2 separate regions of the Homo sapiens genome follow, and region 2 is linked to region 1. The links are contacts of gene promoters, found by promoter capture Hi-C in human tissues and cell types (Jung and others, 2019). All regions are on one chromosome and are shown on one strand. The core of a region is centred on a gene start or on the middle of the fragment in contact, and the rest is flanking DNA. Distances in the headings are between cores, read along the strand shown. Region 1 holds the start of DPH7 (diphthamide biosynthesis 7). Region 2 overlaps EHMT1 (euchromatic histone lysine methyltransferase 1).

What was found. Contacts are between HindIII fragments. The study calls those that stand out against the background at their distance.
Region 2: a contact is called between a fragment that was not itself captured here and the fragment with the promoter of DPH7 in region 1, in 4 of the 25 tissues and cell types used here (H1 embryonic stem cells, aorta, lymphoblastoid cells and 1 more).

The regions. Positions count from the first base shown.
Region 1 is chr9:137,574,526-137,582,325 of GRCh38, forward strand. DPH7 (diphthamide biosynthesis 7) reads right to left here and starts at 4,400. Exons shown (of 9, transcript NM_138778.5): 1 at 4,100-4,400; 2 at 2,945-3,078; 3 at 1,555-1,642; 4 at 227-318. The coding sequence starts at 4,252. ZMYND19 (zinc finger MYND-type containing 19) reads right to left here. Exons shown (of 6, transcript NM_138462.3): 6 at 7,556-7,800. RefSeq lists enhancers at 912-1,206, 1,136-1,945, 4,680-5,651, 4,746-4,805 and a silencer at 4,086-4,495. The HindIII fragment of the contact is 7,311 bases long and covers 1-6,861 here.
Region 2 is chr9:137,706,616-137,714,415 of GRCh38, forward strand. It overlaps EHMT1 (euchromatic histone lysine methyltransferase 1), which reads left to right. Exons shown (of 27, transcript NM_024757.5): 2 at 4,352-4,415. Among named protein-coding and RNA genes, the nearest start is that of EHMT1, 92 kb to the left of the region's middle. RefSeq lists an enhancer at 1,882-2,843. The HindIII fragment of the contact is 3,261 bases long and covers 2,898-6,158 here.

The DNA of each region.
Region 1 (7,800 bases), core at 3,150-5,649:
CTGCTAAGCTTGTCAAAGACACCAGTGTCGACTTCTCTAGGTAAAAACACTATCGCTATGTATCTAAAATGGGGGACCTTTTTTTCATAATAGGACTGGCAGTGATGATGTCAGGGCTGAGGAGCACAGTCGCAGCTCGCTGAAGGTGGCTGGAGCCCTCTAGCCTGAAAAGTGGAAGTGGTTCTCAGAGAAAGACTCAGGACCCCTGACCAAGCCTGGCCCTTACCTTCCAGTTTTCCCAGTGGACCAATCTAGGGACAAAGCCAGACACTGCTCCTCCAGGGCAAGGCTGGACAATGGCTCCAGCACGTGGCTCTTCTACTGGAGAAGAAGAAACTCCATCAAAGGGAAGTAGCCGCCCCAGAACCCCCAAAAGACTTTTCCTCTCCTGCAGGGAAGTCATCGTTCCCTCATTTACAACCTATGCGAATGAAGTACATCAGTCACTGAGTCACACCTCCACCTAACACTGAAACCCCTGCTAGGGGCCCCGAGAAGACCTGGGGACACTGGAGCTCACACTCCTCACACTTGCAGGACAACTTTCCCACAGGCTTGATCTTGGGGCATGGTCTCCCTCCCTTTCACACCCCCTTGCCATCCTTGCGCTCCTAGATGCTGTCGAGATGCCTGTGCAGGCTCCAGACCACAGTGGCACACACAGTTTCCCACCCCAGGCCTCCAGGGCCACTGGAACACTCGCCTCCCGAGACAGAGACAATGGGGAAACTCCTCTGGTTTCCACTTCAGAAGCCGCGAGCAGCCATGAGAACGTGGTTGCTCTTTATGCAGATCTATATAAATTTCATTTCCTAAACAGCCTGGCCAGTGCTTAACTCCATCCCTGCTCCCAGCAGGCTGCTGTACCAAAGCCCTTTCCTGGGTTCATGCACTCCTCCCTTGGGCCCACAGCTTTCCTGTGGCTGCTCTTTCCCTCCTTTCTAAGACAGGGCAACTGCTCTAAGCTGCCTTAAGCAAGGCCTTTTCCTACACAGGCCCTCGGTTGGCCCAGCCCCGCCTGCAGCATCTGCATCGGAGTGAGGGCGTGGTTTCAGGCTGTTTACATCACCCCACTACGGGACATCCCCGTTCTCCTCCCCGACAGCTATCAGATGAAGTCACTTTGTTAATGCATGGCTCCAGAGCACTGTGAGAAACTCGGAAAAATTCACACAGGACTCACGTGCTTTTCCAATAATCAGTGAGAAATGCCATCTTCACACAGGATGCTCACTGCTACTCTGGGCCCCAGCATCAACCTAAGAATGCTTGCCCAGGCTCTCCTTAGAGAACTTTCAGATCCACTGACAGGTCAATGAACATCCTGTCACTTCAGCCCTTCTGCTGGTGACACATGAGGTGACTTCCTCTTGGAGTTGGATGTAGAACGCAATACAACTTAAAAATAGACTCCACATTATCTTAGAACGTTTATATATAGCTCACCATTGAAGAGAGATCGTTTTAGAAAAATGTCTGTATCAGCACAGCCTCCTCCCCAACCCTCTCTATTCAGGTCCCTTCTGCCCCACAGAACAAGTGCAAGTCACTGACCTCAGATTCCACCAGGCGGAGCAGTTGTATGGATCCACTGGCATCTGCCAAGCCCAAGAGGGCATGTCCAGCCACCGGGATGTGACACCTGAGGAGAGGGCCCACCATAAGCACACCAATGTGCCCGGAGCACAGGCGTGCACTGTGCGTCCCGGTAACCACAGTCACGCTTCCCTTAACAACGGGGCTGCAGTCCACGCAAACCCAGCTGGGACATCCTACTACACACCTTGATTATATGGTATGGCCCACTGCTCCTATGCCACAAACCTTACAGCATGTTACTGCAGGCAAGTGTGACACAACAGGAAGTGGTTGTATATCTAAACATAGAAAAGATACAGTAAGAATACAATATAAAGGATAAAAAACAGGTGGCCGGGCATGGTGGCTCACACTTGTAACCCCAACACTTTGGGAAGCTGAGGTAGGAGGATGACTTGAGGTAAGGAGTTCGAAACCAGCCTGAGCAACATAGCAAGACCCTGTTTCTACAAACTAACAAACAAACAAAAATGAGGTGTGGTAAGGCCAGGCGTCGTGGCTCACGCCTGTAATCCCAGCACGTTGGGAGGCTGAGGCGGGTGGATCACGAGGTCAGGAGATCAAGACCATCCTAATAACATGGTGAAACCACGTCTCTACTAAAAATACAAAAAAATAAGCCGGGTGTGGTGGCGGGCGCCTGTAGACCGAGCTCTTAGGGAGGCTGACGCAGGAGAATGGCGTGAACTCAGGAGGCGGAGCTTGCAGTGAGCCGAGACCGCGCCACTGCACTCTAGCCCGGGCGACAGAGCGAGACTCCGTCTCAAAAAAAAAAAAAAGAGGCATGGTGGCATCTACCTGAAGTCTGAAGTCTCAGCTACTCGAGAGGCTGAGACAGAGAATTGCTTGAGCCCAGGAGTTCAAGGCTGCAGTGAGCTATGATCACGTGACTGCATTCCAGCCTGGGCAACGGAACAAAACCCTGCCTCAAAAAAAAAAAAATTAAAAAGGATAAAAACTGGTACACCTGTATAGGGCATCTCCATTACGTTAAGGCACCACCATGGTATACGTGCTCCATTGTTGACCAAAACATAATTATGCCACACACCACTGCATTTAAATCTCAGCTCCAAAAGTGGGCTAGAGCCTACAACTGTGTTCTCAAACAAAAGACGCCCCAGGTTATGAAGTCAGAAAACTCCCATCACTTCCCCGGCTGGAACATGACAAAGGAAATAAGCCCCAGGTAAAGCACTCCCCAGGTGGAAGATAGGCGGGACAGCAAAGAAACAAATCCAAAGTTGAGATGCAATGCCTGTCTTGTTGAAGGCATCAGGCATCAGGCTTCCCTGATTGCTACTCATGACAAATTCTACACCCAGTGGGATTATCACAGTTATACCATTTCATGTCCAGGATTGCAGAAGTATCTTTTCTTTGGACCTCGACCAGAGGGTGAATAGAGTTGTTGTCATTGAAACTGTACAGGAAGAGACGGCCTAAACGGACCTGAGGCTCCTTAACTTCCATTCCACCCTACAAAAAATGCAGAGGTAGTCTCTGATTATCCCAAGACACGAAGGAACCCAAAGGATGGGAAAAGGGATCCAAGGAACTCAAAGGTTTGCCATGACTAAAGGAGTGGAATTCTGCCTGGAAGGAGAACCTCTGGTTTTCTGAGCTGGAGAAACGTCTATTAATGAGTAGGTGAACACTCCTGGACCCAGTAGAGAAGGCTCCTTCTAAACCGGCCAACAGGGACCAGCTATGGCTAGGGTAACCACAGAACCCAGTTTGCCTGGGACAGTCCTGACTTACGCCTGTTGTTCCAGTGCCCAATTTGGATCCTAATATGTACCCACCAGAAGTTAAGATATAATTCCCACTTTCTCTTTACTGTACATTCCACCCATTCCCTTGGGCCACACCTGTATATAGAAGACGTTCTGCTCTCAAGATTTTAAAGTTGGCCGGGGGCGGTGGCTCGTGCCTGTGGTGCCAGCTACTCAGGGGGTTGAGGCGGGAGGATGCCCTGAGCCCTGGAGTCCGAGGCTGCACTCCAGCCTGGGTGACAGTGCAAGACCTTGTCTCAGAAAAAAGTAATTTCTTTTTTTTGAGATGTAGTCTTGCTGTATCGCCCAGGCTGGAATGCAGTGGTGCGATCTCGGCTCACTGCAAGCTCTGCCTCCCGGGTTCACGCCATTCTCCTGCCTCAGCCTCCCGAGTGGCTGGGACTACAGGCGCCGCCACCACGCCCGGCTAATTGTTTTGTATTTTTTTAGTAGAGACGGGGTTTCACCATGTTAGCCAGGATGGTCTCGATCTCCTGACCTCGTGATCCGTCCGCCTCGGCCTCCCAAAGTGCTGGGATTACAGGCGTGAGCCACTGCGCCCGGCCGAGAACAATTTTTTTAAAAAGATTCTAAACTGTTTCCAGCCTACCTCCTGGCCAAAGGGCCAATATCCCCTCTTCATCTCCTGGGCGATTCGGTGCGCCTTTCGGCCTCAACCTCGTGGCCGGCCCCGCCCTCCCCTCCCGAAGCCGCGGCGCGCGCACCTTGTTCTGGGGGCCGGCAGGCCGGTCCTCCGGCCGCCGCAGCTGGTAGGTCCCGCACGCCAGCAGGTGCCTGCAGCCTTGCAGCGGGCACCACTCCACCGAGTCCGCGGTCAGCTCGGTGTCCACCGTTTGCAGGGCGAAACAGCCCATCATCCAGCCCTCGGGGAAGGGCGCGGAGCCGGCAGTAGAGGCGGGTCGGCGGGGCCGGGCTGGGTACTGCGCGGGGCGGCGAGGCCGGGGCCGGCCGGACGAGCGCAGAGCCCCAGGGACACCGTCAGCGCGGGCCGCCTCTCTCGCGACTCCTTCCGGGGTGCCGGGGCGGGACATCCGGCAGGGCCTTGGCCTCCGTGGACGCCCCTGGGAAGCCAGGCTCCCACGCCCCCTGTCGGCCGGCTGACCGCGGCGGGCTTCAGGCGTCAGACGCGCTGCTCCCTGCGGGGCCGTAGAGACCGAAGGCTTCGGGAAATCCGCTCCTCCACAAAGCAGGTTTGGAGACGGCAAGTTAGTGACAGAGCCGTAGGTTTGAAGCCGCCTCTGCAAAATTTCTATCACTGAGAAAAACCCCAACAGCGAGCTGCGGTAGCGCACCCCGTGGCGCCCTCCCGGTTACTCCTGGCCATCGGGCCGCGCTGACTTAACATTTAGGCTGCAGTTTCCATGACAGGCCTTGCCCCGGAATCAACGCCTTCGTAAAGCTGATGAGGAGCCCGCGCCCCACTAAGCCCAGCACCCCGAGGCCGCAGGCGCGCTCTGCCTGCCTCCTGTGAACCCGCCATGGCGGAGCTGCCCCTCAGAGACCGCCTTCCAGGGTCTTTGCTTGTCTGACACCCGTGGCTGCATCAGGACCCCCCAGAAGCGGCTCAGCAGGTGGACGGCTCCGACCCCTATGATTATCAGCACCAGTCGCCTGGCCGCCGCCCCCCTCCCCCAAAACTGCCTTTGAAAAAACCCCTAACCTAGGAGCTTTGGACAAGATGATCTGAGGACGAACTCCATCTCACATGTGGCCTGGCCGGCCCGTGTCTATTAATTTTTTTGTTTTTTTTTTTTGAGACGGAGTCTTGCTCTGTCACCCAGGCTGGAGTGCAGTGGCGCGATCTCAGTTCACTGCAAGCTCCGCCTCCCGGGTTTAAGCCATTCTCCTGCCTCAGCCTCCCCAGTAGCTGGGACTACAGGCGCGCATCACCACGCCCAGCTAATTTTTTGTATTTTTAGTAGAGACGGGGTTTCACCGTGTTAGCCAGGATGGTCTCGATCTTCTGACCTCGTGATCCACCCGCCTCGGCCTCCCAAAGTGCTGGGGTTACAGGTGTGAGCCACTGCGCCCGGCCCTAAACTTTTTTTCTTTATTGCAATCCACGGTCTGAATGTGTGCAGCGGGCAGGAAGAACCCCTTGGGCCGTTACAGGTTGAACTGTGCCCCCCAAAAAACAATGGACTGAAGACCCCAGCACCTCAGAGAGCATCCTTAACAAACAGGGGCTCTCAGAAGCAGCAGGCGTGGGCCCTGACCCAGAGGAGCAGGAGTCCGCAGAAGAGAAAGCTGATGCAGAAGACTTGCAGGGCCATTGCTGTGCAGAGCACAGGGAGGCAGGCAAGGCACCTGGCAGGGAGGAGGCGTCCGCACCTGAGGGCCCTTGCCTGCGCCTTCATCTGAGACTCCGGCCTCCAGAGCCTAGACTGTGAATTCCCGCTGCTTCAGGCTGCACAGCTCGCGCTGCTTTGTTGCGGCAGCTCCAGGAAGCTAAGGCGGACTTGACTGAAATATACGGGTGCCTGGGTATTCAGCCTCAGGGCTTCAAGCAGGGCTGTGGCTAAAGACATGGCAGAGAGCCAACAGCTCAGACCACCACAGAGACAGAGGCGCAGAAAAGGCTGGCCAGGAAGGCAGCAGGGCATTCCAAAAGGGCCTCAACCACACACCTCTGCGGGGGAGGGAGAGTGACCAGGTGCGCATCCCAACACACCACACTCCAAACAAGCTTTAGAAGCAGCCCCACATTGCAGCCATCTGGATGTCCTCACAGGACGTCTTAGATACCTGGCTACGAAGACCAAGAAGTCGGGGCCACGGAACGGGAAAGATGACCAGAGGATTGGGTATCAGGTGAGAGGGAAGCAGTGGTGGGGCCCGTCCCACCCTCACGGTGCCACCTGCTGGGGTGAGGCCTGGAGGAGCTGCCACATGCAAACCTAGAACCTGCACCGCCCCCTTCCCCAGCGTGGTGTCTCACAGGTGGGAGGCCCTGGGCGCTTCTTTCAGTGCACTTTTCTGATGAATGACTGCCAAACAAAGCAGCCCTGCTGGTCAGGGGCAACATGGCCACACCCCTGGATGCAGGTAAAGGGGACCCCTGCACTCCGTGCTCATCCTCAGACTCTATCTGAAAGCAGGCTGCCTGAGGGCACTCGGGGCTCCAGGCCTGAAGACTGCCCCAAACCCCAACCTGCTGACCCGCCATCTCTAGGGACACATATGTCCCCCTCCCTGGCAGCTTTCACCTACTCAGCAAAAAATGTCCCCAACCTTTGCAGCAGCTAAGGGGGCTTCTCAGGGCCTGATGTGGGCACATGCAGTTCTCTAAGCTCCAGGAAATCCTGCGGAGTTTGTTGATATCACCCATTTTCAGCAGTCCTGTTCTTCAGGAGCCCCCAGGGTACTGCCAGAAAAGGTACTGGAAGTTTTGCTTACAGACAAAAGCCAGCCCAGCCAGGGGCAGCAATGAGAACACACAGGGTGTCCTGGAACATGGCAGTGGAGCTTCAAGAAGGGAAAGTGTAGCAGCAACCTGTGGGACCAACACAGGGTCGGACCGGACCAGACCAGACAGGTCAGAGTCGGACTGGCCAGGCTTCCAGCTCCCAAGAAGCAAGGCCTCTGGCTGGGCGCACCTGGAGACAGGCAGGATCCCAGCCACACAGCCTGGCATGTTTCCCTGGGGCAGCTCTATGGGTACAAGATGCTGACCAGCCCCAGACACCTGGGGCTCCCCAAGGAGAGGGAGGGCTATCCTGGAAACCACAGCCCTGCAGACGGACGGAGAAGTGAGACCCTCACCTCACCCTGGCTGGCCAGCCCCCTCCACCATCTGCAGCAGGCCTGCTGAACATGCCCTGTGGATTCTTCTGGGCAGAAGCTCACTGCTGAGCTCCCAGCCACTTCATGCATAAATCAGGCAAGAACTAACCAATGTCAGGGGCGAGAGCATCCTACTCCCCATAAAACAGCGGGCAGCTGACTTAGCAACCCCACCACTCCTGCCGCAAGACAAGGACAGAGTCTCACTCATACTCCCTGCTGGACTCAGGAAGGTCTGAGCTCACCCGCTCCTCAGAAGGGCCCACCAGGAACAAGGGTCCTCCTGCCTCACCCACAAGGACTCGGCTCCACTCAAAATGACCTCACCCTAAGCAGCACAAGAGGGAGGCGGAGCAGAGAATGTCCGAGAGGCCAGATGATTCCACCCCTTTACTTTGCCTTTGTGGACACAACTCCCGTGCAGGCCGCGCTCCACGGGGCTCCCGGCGGCCCAGGGGAGAAGCTTCGACAACAGGACAGTTTTTAGTCACGTGGCCTGACCGTTTGCCATTTAAGGATTACAGCAAATGATTCTATTTGTAATTTCTACCCTTCCCATTGCCTCCCCCCCAAAAAAAACTGTACATGAGTTTACAAACATATTAACATATAAATAATGAGA
Region 2 (7,800 bases), core at 3,278-5,777, 130 kb after region 1:
AGCTGGGATTACAGGTGCCTGCCACCACGCCCAACTAATTTTTGTATTTTTAGTGGAGATGGGGTTTTGCCATGTTGGCCAGACTGGTCTCGAACTCCTGACCTCAAGTGATCCGCCTGCCTCGGCCTCCCAAAGTGCTGGGATTGCAAGCGAGAGCCACTGTGCCTGGCTTCTCCTTTTTATTGAGACATTATTTATCTTTTATACATATATATATATTTTTTGAGATGGAGTTTTGCTCTTTTGCCCAGGCTGGAGTGAAGCAGCGTGATCTCAGCTCACTGCAACCTCCGCCCCCGCCCAGGTTAAAGTGATTCTCCTGCCTCAGCCTCCCGAGTAGCTGGGATTACAGGCATGTGCCACCACTCCCGGCTAATTTTTATATTTTTAGTAGAGACGGGGTTTCGCCATGTTGGCCAGACTGGTCTCCAACTCCTGACCTCAGGTGATCCACTCACCTTAGCCTCCCAAACTGCTGAGATTACAGGCGTGAGCCAGCGCGCCTGGCCTATCATTTACATTTGTATTGTAAACTAATTTGTCCTTAATCTGGAGGTTTCATAAAATCCTAGAGTCCGTCAGCCATAAGGAGACTTGGCAGCGCTGCTTGGGGGGGCTGGTCTCCGAAGCCAGCCTGTGGTGCTTCAGCACCCTAGGAGCAGCCCCTGGGCTACAGAAGCAGCATCCCTTGCTGGGAGAAAACCTTCCCGAGCCTCCTGGAAGTCAGGAGAGGCCACGGTTCTGGAGGAGAGGGCGGAGCCGCTGCCTTGCAGAGCCTGGTCTGTCTGCCTCTGCTGGGCCTCCCTCCTCCCCGGTGCCCCCTTTTCCTTTCGCCTCTGCCCTGGGCCATCCTCAGCTGTCCCTTAATGGAAGTGAGCACTGGGGATGCTACAGACCAGGCAGAGGCATCTGTGCTGTGTTTCTGGCCCTAACACTGGTATGAGGCCTGGCATGTTGGTCAGTGCTTGTCAGAGGATTCCTGAGTGCAGTTGAATTGGACACACAGCAGAATGGTGGATGATTCTAGACATTATTCGGTAGTGTGTTACATAGCATTCTTAAACATTTTTTCAAAAGATTACAAAACTTAATTTCGTGGGTAGGATTTGTGGCTGGTGGTGGTGATGAGGACTGTGAGATGGAGTGGGGTTTGGCGGGTGCCTCCAGGAGGGGACAGCATGTGAGGGGCACAGCTGGTGCCCAAAAATGCCTGTAGACCCCGGCAGCCTCACAAGGTCTGCCCTGCCATGCTCCACCCCGGCTCATCTCAGGCCAGGAGACCTTGTCGGCAGAGCTGTGCCGTGGCAGGCAGGGTGTCTTTGGTGTGCCTCAAGGCCCTGCTCTTAAAAGTATTGAGGACCCCAGAGGGCTCTTGTTTATTGGGTTGTATCTAATGATAGTTACTGTAAAAGAAATGAAAACTGAAAAGTTAAAAATCACATTTTTAAAAAATAATAAAAGTAAACATGTAACATTTTATTTACATGTTAGGGAATACAGCAGTTTCTGTGAAAAGTACTTTTTCTGAATGAAAAAAACTCAGTTGAATGGCATTGTTTTCCATGTTGGTCCATCTCTGTCATGTCTGGCTAATCGAAGAGTCAGCTGGATTTGCAGATTGGCTTCTGCACCCAGCCTGAGGTGATACTGTCTGAAGAAAATCTGGTCTCCCATAGACATGTGGTTGGCAAGGGGGAAGTATTTTGATATCTTTTCAGATAATTGCAGCTATTCTGCTTTGATATGACACGAAAACTCAACAAGGTGAAACTGTGCCAATGACCTTCTTCCTCTGTGACATTAAAGCCCATCTTGGATGCATCTTTGTCCCATGCGTGATTTTGAATATTAGGCACTGGGCATTTGGGGAGTGTCAGCTCACCTTGTTAGGAAGATCTTCCCCATGTTGACACATTTTATTATATGGTATCAAAAATCATAGTCACTAATGATACCGCTCATGTAATAAGAAAAGTCATAAATATGGAGAAACTTTCAAGCTCATGGGGACAGATACACATTTACATGTGTTTCGAAAATTCAAAAGGTAGAGTTTTAACATTGGCAACAAATACTACTGGTTGTTTTCTTTGAGGCTCACTCTGTTCTGTGGAAATGTCTGCCAGATGTCCAGGTCTGACTGAGTGGCATGTCCAGGCCTGAGTGGCATGTCCAGGTCTGAGTGGCATGTCCAGGCCTGAGTGGTATGTTCAGGTCTGAGTGGCATACATTTTGCCAGTTGTTCTTTTAAGTGAAGATGCTCTGTGAGTGAGGAAAGCTTCGGGTTCCACGCAGCCACTGTGCCTGGCCTGCTGCCTGCCCCCTTCCTCTGATGTGGAACGCTGGAGAGCTGTGCTCACAGGCCATCATCTCACTGCCTCATCCAGGGCACTCTCAGGCGAGCCCCCCAAGTGCCTGCTGGTCAAGAGTTCAGTTGCTGGAGTACACTTCGGTGTCCTGACCTGGTCGATGCAAAGGGGCTGACACCACCGCTTGGGCACCGTCTGTGCAAATATCAGCACAGTGAAAAAGGCAATTGAGGTCCTAGTATTACCATGAAAATAGTTTTGACCTCCTGGACTCCTGGAAGGATTGCAGGGACCCCGGAGAGCTCCTGTTGGGGGGTAGGTGTGAAGGGTGCAGGCTGAGCTGGCTGGCGTACAGCTGTGATGGACCAGGAAAGGTAGCGTGCTCTGCATGTTCGAGGGCTGGCCATGAGCAGCTGGGCTGCTGGCCCTGGCTTGGCAGTGGGAGATCAGGGGGTGGGAGGTGGAAACCTGGGCCCCCCTGCCTTACCGTGGTGGGGTGGGCTGTGCACAGTTGCTAAGACCAGCTCCTGGGGAGGGTGATGCAGTTAGGTCCGGTGTTACCAAGTCAGCCCAGAAGGCAGCGAGACCATATGGATGTGAGCCCTGGAAAGCAGTAGGCACATCCGGGCTCAGGTAGGGGCTGGCCTGGCGTCTGCTTTGTGGGGAGGAGGGGTTCTGTTGAGAGGCCCCATTGTTGACATGTTTTCTCATCCAGACGCTGGACACCCGGGTTTTTGCAGCCTCTTCTTACCTGTTGATAGTCAATTAAAGATGGAATCAGTGCGTGGCTGGCCTCCTGCAGCTGTCTGACTGGCTGCTCCTAGTGACCTCGGGCAAGTCTGTGCCTCTCCTCTTCTGGTTGTGGACTCGGAGCACCAAGTGTGCCTCCCTCAGTTGTTCCTATTTTATCACTCTGACCCGGAGGCTTCCTGCCCACTTCCAGCTTCCAGTGGCCTCACCAGAGGGCTTTCTCCAGTATCACATCACCAGGTGTGGGTGTCAGCCTGACAGCTCCCACTTGCAGTCTGGCATCTCCAACTGCCCAGAGTGGTCAGCAGCCCTCTTCCCCGGCCCCCAGCTGTGGGTGGGGCATTTGCAGACTCCCTGCTGCCTCCTTATGGACTCCATGGTCCTGCTGCTGCGTCGGGAGAGGCCTGGCTAGGAGTGTTTTATGTGTTTATGTTCACTTCTCCAACCAGACTCTAAGCTTCTTGAAGGCAAGGATTTTTGTGTAAAAAAAAAAAAAAAAATTCTGTCCAAGTGCCACCCAAGTGCAGTGGCTCACACCTCTAATCCCAGCACTTTGGGAGGCTGAGGCGGGCGGATCACTTGAGGCCAGGAGTTTGAGACCAGCCTGGCCAACATGGCGAAACCCCCATCTCTACTGAAAACACAAAAAGCATCTGGGTGTGGTGGTGTGCACCTGTAGTCCCAGCTACTCAGGTGGGTGAGGCCTGAGAATCGCTTGAACTGTGGAAGCAGAGGTTGCAGTGAGCCGAGATCGCGCCACTGTACTCCAGCCTGGGCGAGAGAGTGAACTCTGTCTCAACAAAAAAATTGTAAGAGGCCTTGTATAATACATACCTCTATAGATGCTTAATCTCAAAGATTTAGTGATTTAAGTTCCTTATTGAATTTTCTTGATTTATCTATTTCTATAATTTTTTGTAGGAGGTTGGACATTTGAAATATATGAATTATTGTCAGCAGTAGAATGCATTTTGAAATAAATTGTAACACTCCTGTAACAGAGCCCAAAGATTTCAGATATCTAATTATATAAATGATACATGAATGCGTTCTTATTGTTAAGAAACTGTCTTCAAAAATAGAAATACAGGAGAAGTTTCCTTGGACTGTGTTCTGAATGCCAGTTCTTCTGCTGGAGGCGACTGTAACCAGCTGGCAGGAGTAAATCTGACTGTCCAGCAGCTCATGGTGAATGTTGTAACTACGATTTTTTGACTTTTTCCAAATGATGTCCATTTGGAAAAGCGGCCTCCCACTGAACCCGGCTGACGGCTGTTGTTTCTCTCTAACAGGCAGTTCCGGCGAGGGGGGAGCCTCAGCAGGATTGCTGTGTGAAAACCGAGCTGCTGGGAGAAGGTGAGGGCGGTGTGCACCGAGGGACAGGAGCAGCGCCTCCCTCCAGACTAGAAAACCTGCTGCTCTTCCTCTCTTATTAGTCCCCGTCTTCTGACTTTCTTTGCTTCACCTAGGTTTATGGTATAGTTTCTAATCTATCCCATTCCTAAATAGCACAGTTGCACAGACAAACACAAAAGCTCTGCCAGAGAAGGAACACATTTGTCAAAGTATGAAAAGCAAAAATCCTGTATATCCTTGTCTTAAAGTACACCCAGAAAATTAAAAGTGAGTGGCCACACAAATGTTTATAGCAGCATTGTCACGTCGCCGAAAACCGGAGACACTCCGGTGTCCTCAGTTGATAAGGAACTGGATAAACAGATCGTGGTACATCCACACAGTGGGACAGCGGTCAGCAGCCCAGAAGAGCACACAGCATGACTGACGCCGCGCCATGGATGAAGCTTTTGTACGGTTTGTTAAGTGAAGGAGGCCAGACCCAAAGGGCCACAAGCTGCATGACTCCAATTTTATGGCAGACACTTGGAGAACAGCAGTGGTTACCAGGAGGTGGAGGGAGTGGTGTGGAAGCAAGTGTCTGCAGAGAGGCAGGGTGAGGGGAGTTGGGGCGAGGGGAGTCGGCGGGGCTGCACCCCTCTGTAAGGCGTGGCGCACACATAGGGTTCGGATGTTCTTGGAGAGCCTGCACCACCAAGAGCGCCCCCAGGAAATGAGGGCAGGTGGCGCCAGACGAGCTGTGCTGTGCTCCACAGTGAAGGGAGAGTGGTGTTCTGGCTGGACCCATAAGGGTGGCGGCCGTGGGAGCAGCTCAGACACTGGACTTGCCTAAGGCTCTCCCAGCTGGAGCCTGCTCCTCTCCAGACAGCGCGCAAGGCCTGGCTCCTCATGGACTGTGGGCTGTGGCCCCTGCCGTGTTCTCCTTTCACCCTAGATGGCCTCGCTGTGCCTGTGGGTTCTCGTCCACCCACTGGCTGTGCACTGTGGTGACCGCTGCCCGCCTCTGCCGCTACCCCTAGCCGGCCCTCCAGGGTTGCCCCCACCTCCTGCGCCATCCACCTCCTGCAGCCTGACTGGGTGTTTTCTTCCTGTACTTTGGCCCCTTCCTGTTGCCGTCCTTTCTGTGTCTTTGAACTGTTTCTTCTGTTGGCTCCAGTGCCCTCCGGCTCTTCCCCCTTCTCTCCCTGGTCACCCCTCCTTTGACCTTCCTAGTGGAACTTGTTTCCTACGTGACACCAGATGCCACAAGCCCCAGGTTATTCCATTACGCTTTAGGCTTTGCCTGTGCCCTGTTCCCTTACACACTGCCGCTGAGCCACGGCCTCTCCACCCTGGGGGAACTGCTGGACCCCCACGGTGGCTGCCCCATCTTGCTTTCCCTGCAGCAGTTGCAGAGGGCTCCAGGTTCTCCACGTCCTCGCCACCATTTCTTAGTGTCTGTGGCTGTCCTGGCGGGTGGGAAGTGGCATCTCATTGTGGTTTTGGTTTGCATTTTCCTGACGGCCAGTGATGTTGAGCATCATTTCGTGTGCTTACTGGCCATCTTTAGAGCTTCTTTGGAGAAATATCTCTTCTCCTGTGATTTCAAATTGGATTGATTTTTATTGTTGAGTTTTCAGTGTTCTTTATATAAGCAGAAGTCCCTTATCAGCCATGGGATTTGCAAATATTTTCTTCCGGTCTGTGGCTTGTCTTTCCCCTTTCTTGATGGTGTCCTTTGAAGTATAAATGTTTTCAATTTTGATGAAGTCCGACTTACCTGTTTTTTTCCTCCTTTTAGTTGCTGGTGCTTTTGGTCTAAAACCTAAGAACTTACCATTACTTAATAGAAGGTCACAAACATTTACATTTATTTTTTCTTGGAGTTTTATAGTTTTATCTCTTTTATTTAGGTTTTCGATCAATTTTGAGTTAATTTTTGTATATGGTTTGAAGTAGGGGTCCCAGTTTATTATTTTGCAAGTTGATAATCAGTTGTCCCAGCAACATTTATGAAAAAGACCTTTCTTCCCTCATTGAATTGTTCTTGCACCCTCGTTGAAAATCAGTTGGCTTTAAATGTGAGGGTTTATTGTAAGATTTTCTTTTCTTTAGACAGGGTCTCCCTCTGTAATCCAGGCTGGAGTGTGATCATGGCTTACTCTAGCCTCCATCTCCCTGGGCTCAGGCAATCCTACCACCTCAGCCTCCCAAGTAGCTGGGACCACAGGTGTGAGCCACCACACCATGCTAATTTTTTTTTTTTTTTTTTTTTTTTGAGATGGAGTCTTGCTCTGTCACCCGGGCTGGAGTGCAGTGGCACGATCTCGGCTCACTGCAAGCTCCGCTTCCCGGGTTCACGCCATTCTTCTGCCTCAGCCTCACGAGTAGCTGGGAATACAGGCACCTGCCACCATGCCCGGCTAATTTTTTTTGTATTTTTAGTAGAGACGGGGTTTCACCATCTTAGCCAGGATGGTCTCCATCTCCTGACCTCATGATCCACCCGCCTTGGCCTCCCAAAGTGCTGGGATTACAGGCGTGAACCACTGTGCCTGGCCCCTAAGTATTATATTTTTTGATGCTATTTTAAATAGAATTGTTTTAAAAATTCTTTTTCATTTTGATCATTGATACTGTATAGAAATACAAGTGATTGGCTGGGCACACTGGCTCATGCCTGTAATCCCAGCACTTTGGGAGGCCAAGGTGGGCAGATCACTTGAGGTCAGGAGTTCAAGAGCAGCCTGGCCAACGTGGTGAAACCCCATCTCTACTAAAAATACAAAAATTAGCGGGATGTGGTGGCTCGCACCTATAATCCCAGCTACTCATGAGGCTGAGGCAGGAGAATCACTTGAACCCGGGAGGCAGAGCTTGCAGTGGGCAGAGATCATGCCATTGCACTCCAGCCTGGGTGACACAGCGAGACTCCATCTCAAAAAATAAAAAAAGTTAAAAAAAATTGATTTTTGCATATTTATCTTATATCCTATAACCTTGCTAAACTCGTTTATTAGTTCTAATGATTTAAACTTCCTTGGGAATTTCTGCATAAAAGCTTGTGTCATCTTTAGGGCTCATTTGGTTTCTTCCATTCCAATCTGCATTCTTTTTATTTCTGTTTCTTCCTTATGGCCCTACTTCGAATCTCTAGTACAGGGTTGAATAGAAGTGGCAAGACTGGACATCCTTGTCTGGTTTCTGATCTTAGGGAGAGAGCTTCCCGGGTTTCACCTTTAAGTGTGATGTTAGCTGTAGTTTTTCATAGATGCCCTATGTTAGATTGAGGAAGTTTTCTTTTCTTAGCAAACCATTTGCTAAGTGTTTTGACCATGAAGGGGTGTTCATTTTTTCCTGTCTAATGAGATGCTTGTGTGGTTTTGTCCTTTATTTTGTTCTATTG